Regions from separate parts of the Homo sapiens genome. Here region 1 is linked to region 2. The links are contacts of gene promoters, found by promoter capture Hi-C in blood cells and fetal thymus (Javierre and others, 2016). All regions are on one chromosome and are shown on one strand. Each heading gives the region's core, a stretch centred on a gene start or on the middle of the fragment in contact. The rest is flanking DNA. Distances are from core to core; before and after follow the strand shown. Region 1 overlaps PTPRF (protein tyrosine phosphatase receptor type F). Region 2 holds the start of ARTN (artemin).

Region 1 (4,079 bases), core at 1,059-3,558, 390 kb after region 2:
ACAGGGTCAGAGAGACGCTTACGTGGGACAGAGGACAGAGAGACAAGACAGTGACAAGGAGCAGTGAGGGGCAAAGCCAACTGACTCTGGAGTCTCCCTGGTAGAATTCTGTTGCCCCTCCTCTCCCCAGCAGGGAGGGAGAAGGTGGGAGGCCAGACTCCACGAGCACGCTGAGCACAGGCCCCTGAACACAGGCTTGTTAGCAGAAGACAGGCTCCAGGTATCAGAGGCTTCCAGCCAAAGCCACAACCCCTCAGTGCTCACCAGGACGTGCTCTTGACAAGCTGCTGCTGCCCTGCCTGGCCACCCTCGTCCTACCCATTCCCATGGCACCTTCCTACTTCACAGAGAAACCACAGGGAGGCCTCAGTGGCCAGGAATGGGGTGTTAGACCCTAGAATTCAAACCTCACATCTCTTCTGCCCTTGCCCCAGAAGCCCGGAGCCAAACAAGTGTAGGGATGATGGGGTGTGAACCTCAGGGGCTGATGTTTGAGACAGGAAGCTATGCACAAAAAGACTGAGTAGCGTCTGGGACTGGCTGAATGCCCCTAGGCCTTTACTTCCAAGGCTCCTGGCCTGAAGTGCCTGCAGGCACCTGGGTGAAGCCTCTAGCATGGCCGCACTATACATGGGAGATACGCTGCTATCACTCCCTGGCCCCACTGGTGAGCTCCCCAGGGTCTCTCTCCCATACCCCTCACCTGGGGGGCACCAGGGGATGTATGGAAGGGCCCACAAGCTCTGATCACACCATGCTCTGGGCAGAGGGGTGAGACGTGGTCGATCCCTCATGAATGCTGTGAAGACGCAACAGAGCAGAGTGCATGACGGTGAACACGCCTTGGGGCCCCACAGTGATACGCATGGACTTTGATAGGGGAGTTGTGATCAGACCCAGGTCCCCGCTGACCCACAATAGTAAGAGAATTTGCAAGGTGACAGGGCAGGTGACCAGGAATGGGCAGGGCTCAAAGGTGCTCCAGTCGTTTCTGAAATTTGAACCCTTGTCTCAACTGAGATAATCAAAGTTCATGAGGTCAGAAGGCAGCAGTTGAGCAAAGGTGTTGGACAAAGCAGGTGGGAATGCAAAGTGGGATGGGGCCAAACACAAAGGAAAAGGGGTGAGAGTTGTCCCCTGTCCCAGGATCCCACCAAAAATCTGAGACAGGAGCTGAACAACAAAGTAAGAACGGTGAAGGGTGTCCAGCCTTCATTTACACCAGTTCTTCAAGTAAGAACGTTGATAGGTGTCCAGCCCCATTTACACCAAGCTGGGGATGGATCTGCTCCACGATCCCAGAGCTGAGGTGGCTGAGACCACAATGACGCCTGCAAGGCCACAGTGGGATGGAGGTCACACATCACCAAGGCCCTGCCTGAGCTTGCGCTATGGTGCCACATGCAGCCAACGATGGAGCACCTTCCCAGCGGCCATCAGGTGGTGGACTATGAGTGGCTCTTCCTCCCTGGGCCTGTGGACACATCTGGTATCCTATGCCAGGCCAGGTCATCATGGGGGTATGGTCCCCTGATGGACCATCCTGGAGCCCCTGAATGAGACACATGAGTTTATAACTCAACAGCTGTGTTGCACCAAAGGACAGGGCACAGTGGCCTCGTACCGGCATCATCGGGTATAACAATATAATAGTCACAGAGGTTAACTTCCAGGAACAAGCATTCCAAGCATGCAACCCCTGCCAGGCAGGCTTCATAGGGACATAGGCCCCCAGCATGAGCATATCTCCCTGCTATGAAAATAAAATGCACAGCACCGTCATCATGGGATATAGCTCCCCAGTACAATGAGCAGAGGCTTAATCCCCTGTAGCCGCCTTGGTGCAGTAATCATAGCAGTATAACGCCCAGGTGCAGACATCATGGAGGTGTAATGGTGTGGTCTAGACATCACGTGGGCGGACACAGAGGGTACAGACATCATGGAGTGCAGCTGCCTGATAAGGACATTACAGGGGTGCAACTCCCCATACATTAGCAGAGGTGTAACGTGCTGTTACAGACTTCATGGTGGGGGCAGAGCTCCCAGGAGAGCCATCATGGGGGTAAAACTCCCAGAATAGACACCCATGTGGTACAAGCCTGGATGAGAGTCTGGCCATGGGTGTTGGAGAACTTGGGCCTCAGGTAACCCTACCCCCAACGTGGGGCCTCCAGAAACCCCCTGTGTATCTGGGTTGGGGTGCTCAGGACACTTTGTTCAGATCCAGAAAGTAGAACAGAGAGCTTCTTCCAGTGGTCCATGATGGACACAAGGACACAGATGCCCAGGGAGATGGGGAAACACAAGGGACACACACAAACACATTCTCAGGCAACTACTCTGGCAGCCACACAGCTGTACGAGCCAGGGCCTCTCCCTCACCAGCTCCTGGCGAGAGCAAGCTGCCTCCCGCCCTGAGACTCCGGGCACAGAGCCTGCCCTGGTGTCAGGCGGTTCAGGCCACTCCCAGCTCCAGGGCCTCCCTCATCAGAGCAGAGCAGCCCTGGATCCCCAGGCCTGGCCTCAAGAGTAGACCTTGGCCCCCAGAGTCCCAGGGTCCCAGGGTCACCTGTGGGGAGAAGGTGGGAGAGGAACAAGGGGCAGGGCTGCTGCTAGCCTGACTGCGGTTGCGAGGTTGAGCATCTTGTGAATCCATGCAACGGTGTTCACAGCAGAACACCCACTTCACCAGCATGGCTGGGTGAGCCTGGGCTTTCAACAACCGAGATAAAAACAAGGCCGGAGCACTGGGGCACTCAAGCTCGTCTCTGAATTGCACTGTGGACCATCCGTTCTGCCAAGCTGACATACTTGGGCAGGAACACAATTACATACGGTATGATATTATAGAATATAATTGGACACAATTTTTCCACATTCAGAATGGTTTTAATATATCCTTTTCCTTTGCTACGTCAGTGTAAAGCTGCCAACTGCCCTTTCTTGGGAAGAACTGTCCTTTATTCTCAAATATTGTCCTTGGTGTTAAAATGTTCTTTCCTGTATGAAATGATGGGGACAGCAGATAGCAGTTGTTTTTTTATAATGCCTTTACTTGGCAAAATAAAAAATTGCCAACCCCATGTCTGGCTCTTGAGTACTTTTGGAAATTGTATTGGTTCGTGAAACCAAAGAGCCTGGGAATCACTGCTTTGAGGGAAAAGGAAGAAGCAGGCACTAGACCAAGCCACAGCATTCGCATATGAACGTCACAGAAGATTCACGTTGCAAAACACAGAAGCCATGTCACCTCCATGCAGCCCACCCTAACCACCCTGCCAGCCTCTGTGGGGGCCCAAGGGACCATGTGATGGGGGCTTCCCTGGCTGGAGAACAGCTGGGATCATTCCTGAGTCCTCATCATAAATACGCAAACACAGATTGATTTGTTTTCCTTGGGCATGCATTATTATTCACAAATATTAATTAGTCTCCAAATACCACCTGTTTCTGTAGCCTCCCCCATCTCACCTCCCCAGGCCAGGACCCTGGGGCCCAGAAATGGACATGAGCAGAAGGAGGGGTATCCAGGGCCCTACAGAGCAGACGGCCAAGAGGAAAGGCCAGCACTTGGGCAACAGGAAGGGAAGAGCCTGTCGGCAGGGAGAGCTCTGAGCCGTTCATCTTCTAACCAGCGGGCAGCTAACCGAGCCCTTTTGTCATGTCCTGGACAGTTCACCGCGTGGCACTGCAGCAGCGGCCGCGGAGGCGGAAACAGGCCTTGTTATACTTGGGAAGGGAAAACCAACATGTTTCCAGCTCTCACCAAACCAACCACTGGATTATGACGGGAATAAATTATAGTCTCAGCCAGGACCCCTGACCCAGGGAAGGAGGGGCCTGTGGGGAAGAGGGTGAGGCCGCCTTCCCTCCTCCAGCCAGTTGGCCAGAATCCGTGAGCAGAGCCAGGAACAGCCCTCCCTCCCACGGCTGGTATCGGGGCTCCCACCAGCTGGACTGAGTCCCACCCTGTTGCAGCTCTCAGTTTCTCCATCTCACTGAGGAGTGGAGGGGGAGATTAGGAGGAGTGTCGCAGAGACTTGGAGGCGGCAAAGGGTCAGCAGGAGACTAACTCT
Region 2 (3,769 bases), core at 166-2,665:
GCCTTCACCCCAGGCTGCCGGAGAGGAAGCTGAGGGCTGGAGAAGAATTAGGGTGCTAGCTGGTCACTCTAAGAGTTATCTAATGATAGTGAGCCCCAAGCCTCAGCCTGTGCTGCCCACCCAGAGCTGCTTCACCTCGCCCCTCTGTGAACTGTGTTCTGGACCCAGAGCCACCTGAGTTCTCTCCTCTGACTATAGGTGTCCCTCGATGACCACAGAGCCGGGGGATGGTGGGAGCTAATGGGCCCTCTGAAAACATGGGGCCTGGGTCATGGCTTCCTGTGGCCACAAGGGGGCAGAGTCTGCCAAGCCTGCAGATTCCAAGCAGGGTGGGCTTTTCCATCCCCTCAGCTACACTCAGGCCTGAGCCACTCCCAGGAGGGCCAGCTAGGCTTCCATACCAGCCTGGTCTCTGAGAGCTGAGCCACCCTGGGAGCTGGTCTAGGTCTGTCCCCCTCCCAGCCTCCTATGGATCTGGCAGCCTAGTCATGCTCCTAGAAGTTTCCCCCTTGAGCCATCGTTCCTGATCCCAGCCAGCCTTCCTGAGCTCCCACTGCTAGCACTCCCAAACACCCTTTTGGGGCCCTAGAGCCTTCGTAAGTCCTCATTAGCCAGCCTCCTCTTGGGTCCCAGCTACCACCCTCATCCCCATCCTTTAGCACACAGAATGCCTGCACACCTGTGGAACAGACCCCCAGGCCTTCCCGGGGTTGTCCTCCAGGTCCTGGTGTGTGCCTCTTGGCTAAGTGGAATCAAGGCCTCCGAGCCAGGCCAGTGACTGTTGTCCGTGATGGAGGGAAAGGCAGGCAGGGCAGCCTTAGGAGCCCTCTGCGCTAGGGGGAGCCCGGGAGCAGGTCTCTTGAGGGCAGCTCAGGCCCTGCCTCCTACCTCCTTGTGGTCTAGGGCCATTTGGTTCTCTGGCCCTTGCCTCCCCATCCACCAGCCCGCTACTCACCACGGGGTCCTGCACCTTGTTCTTCTAGGCACCTTTCCGGGGACCAGTGCTGGGCTCTCCCCCGAAGCTCAAACAGCGCATGCCCAGGACTGTACACCTGGCAGTGCCTCTTTTAGCCAAAAGTGTGGCCTTGGCAGCCAGTCTGCACCCTGTAGCGGCAGCGGGAGCCTCACATTACAGTGGGCCGGCAAGGCCAGCACAGTCCAACAAGCGACAAGAGGGACTGAGGGGCTGGGAGGGGCGGAGAACTGTGCCGAGGGCCCAAGAGAGGGAGGATGCAAGAAAGGAGAGGAGGGGGGTGGTCCTGTCCTCTCCCCCAGCCCAAGAGCGTCCATCCAGGGCTGGGACCAGAAACAGGCAAGTGGGCTGGCTTACCTCGGGTGTGGGGCTCCAGGCCCGGGTGGCAGCGAGGGCTGGGGCCCGAGGGACCTGCTGCTGGCGGAGCCCCCGGGCCTTGTCTGGGGGCCGGGCCCAACTCCATCCCTCAGCAGCCTCCTGCCCGCCGCCGCAGCCGTCCGGTGTCAAATTCCAGCCCCAGCGTCACCAGATCCCGGGGTGGGGCTGGGAGCGCCCCTGCCCCGCCCCACCTTTCGGGGCTCACCTGGCTGCTCCACCCGTCGGATCCAGTCCCCCCTAGCTTGGCTAGGTCCCCCGAGGTTGGGAGGGGGGTAGATGCTGGGAGGGGCCCCTCGGATATGGAGAGTAGAGAACTCGAGCGGTGGAGAGGCACGGAAACCGGGAGTTGAGTTTGTAGACTCGCGAAGTAGAGAGCTGGGAGGCCGGGCCGAGGGCGGGAGAAAGTGAGTGAGGGCGGGGAGCGAGGGGTAAGCCGGTCCCTGCGTGGGGCGGCTGACTGCTGGTACGTGCAGATTTGGGGGTCCGGCTGTCTGCCCTGCAGCAGCTGCTCTCTGCTCCACCCGATTCTTCTCTCAGCGGCCAGTTCACCTGCCTTGTTGGGTTGCTTAGCCTCTGCGCAGCTTTCAGGATCTGACTCTGCTCTAGTCTCCCCACAGCTCACCTCCTGTGCTGCTTAGGGCTTGGAGTACGGACACACTTGCAAACACGGGAGTCACTGGGGCACAGCAGGGGCAGTGTTGGCAGAAGTGGGTACTGAGGGCTGAAGGCAGGGGTCACAGAGGAGGAACATCTGAGCTGAGTCTTGAAGTAGGTAGCTGGAGGGCAGCATTTCAGATGCCTAATTATGGCAATTTGGCAGGTGGGTTGAGGGCTGGGTGAGTAACATGGATGGAAAGATCCTAACACTGGGGACCATGGGAGGGTTTTGAGCAGAATGGTGTAATCAGACAGGCATTTTTTGTGGATGACTCTGGCTGTAGTAAAGAGGATGGGGTTGGAGAGAAAGGTGGAGGCTGCTGTGGAAAGAGGATGAGGTCTGATGCAGGGCATGAGGGGAGCGTGGGGCTGCCAGGCCCCAATCTGGAACACGCAATTTTGAAAATTCATTAGTGCCTGACTGGATAGGGTGAGGAGGTAGGTAGACCCTGCAAAAGTGTGCCTTTGGCGGGGTGACCTGGGGGAGGGGTACATCCCGGCTCCTGGGAGGAAAGGCAGGGGCTCATGAGTTCGGTGTTGGACATGTTGAGTTGGAAGGGCCTGTGGATTATCCAAGTGGAAATGTTCAGGAAGCCGGTGAATTTGTAGCCTGGAAGGAAGCAGAGAGAGCTGCGCTGGCAAAGGCAATTTGGGAATTGTCAACCAACTGGCAATTGGAAGCTGTGGTCAGGGATGAGAGTGCTGGGGATGTGTGTGGACCAGCTGTACCCTGGCTATGCTTCTGAACCACTAGGGACCTTTAAAAACTACCCACATCCGGGCCTCAACCCAGACCCAAATCAGACTTTCAGGGTGGACATGTGCAGTTTTCAAATTGCACAGGTGATTCTGGTGCATGGCCAGGGCTCAGAACCATAGCTGGTGTGAAAGTAGTTTTCCGCGGTGGTGAGGACTAGAAGTCAGACCACAGAGAACTGCTGCTGGAGGTGGTGGGGCTGCTGCAGGCGTGCCAGGAGCCCCCTGGGATAGGAGGCCAAGCAGGGAGCAGTCTGCTCTGTCACCTCCCACAACCGGCTGCTCAGTTGGGGCACCTGCCTTGGGGCTTTTTCAGCCAGGGACACCACTTATGGCCATTCAGCCTATGCCCTGTACAACTCCACGGGGCACCATCCAGGCAGGAACATGTGCATGGTAGTGGCCTTATTTCCGGTAGAAATGGAGGGGGTTTCTGGGTTGACCTGTCCCTCAGTCAGGGCCTCCCTTACCCCCCTAGCCCAGGAGGCTTCTGCCTAAGGCCGGCCACAGTGGGAAGGAGCATGTGGGAGGCTGCTGGTCCCTGGGATGGCCGGGACTCCAGCCTTAGGGCTCACCAGTGGGAGGGCAGCCCAGGGCTGCCTGGAGTCTTGGATTGGGGTGGGCAGGAGAGAGGAGCAGGAGCCGGCCACCCCACTTACTGCCTGCCACAGTGGCAGTGTGTGACAGAAAGCTCACTTCATGGCCTCAAGTGCAGGCGACAGTCTGGTCTGTCCATTCTCAGGCCTGCCTGGGGATGCTGGGGAAGAGAGGGATCAGACTCTAGGACTCTTAAGAAGGCGACGTGATATCTTTTCTAAAGTATGACAGAGGATACCTAGAGCAGGGCTGAAGGGAGAGGGTGTGCCTCTGTGCTAATGATTGGGGCTGGGGCATGTCCTTCCCAGAGGGACGGGAGTGTCAGTAGTAGGGTAGGTCTGTGAGCCTCTGCTTGCTGCAGGGGCTCAGCAGTATATCTTTCCTGTGCTTGCAGGAATATCTGTCCTT

The links. Contacts are between HindIII fragments. The CHiCAGO score rates a contact against its expected background, and 5 or more counts as called.
Region 1: a contact is called between a fragment that was not itself captured here and the fragment with the promoter of ARTN in region 2, in 9 of 17 cell types (megakaryocytes, fetal thymus, naive CD8 T cells and 6 more). The highest score is 8.7, in megakaryocytes.

What each region holds. Positions count from the first base shown.
Region 1 is chr1:43,540,578-43,544,656 of GRCh38, reverse strand. The region is part of intron 2 of PTPRF (protein tyrosine phosphatase receptor type F); the gene reads right to left. Among named protein-coding and RNA genes, the nearest start is that of PTPRF, 12 kb to the right of the region's middle. The HindIII fragment of the contact is 9,596 bases long and covers 1-4,079 here.
Region 2 is chr1:43,931,447-43,935,215 of GRCh38, reverse strand. It overlaps ARTN (artemin), which reads right to left and starts at 1,415. Exons shown (of 5, transcript NM_057091.3): 1 at 1,331-1,415; 2 at 956-1,104. RefSeq lists silencers at 774-823, 1,374-1,463 and enhancers at 1,974-2,023, 2,653-3,153. The HindIII fragment of the contact is 8,131 bases long and covers 1-3,769 here.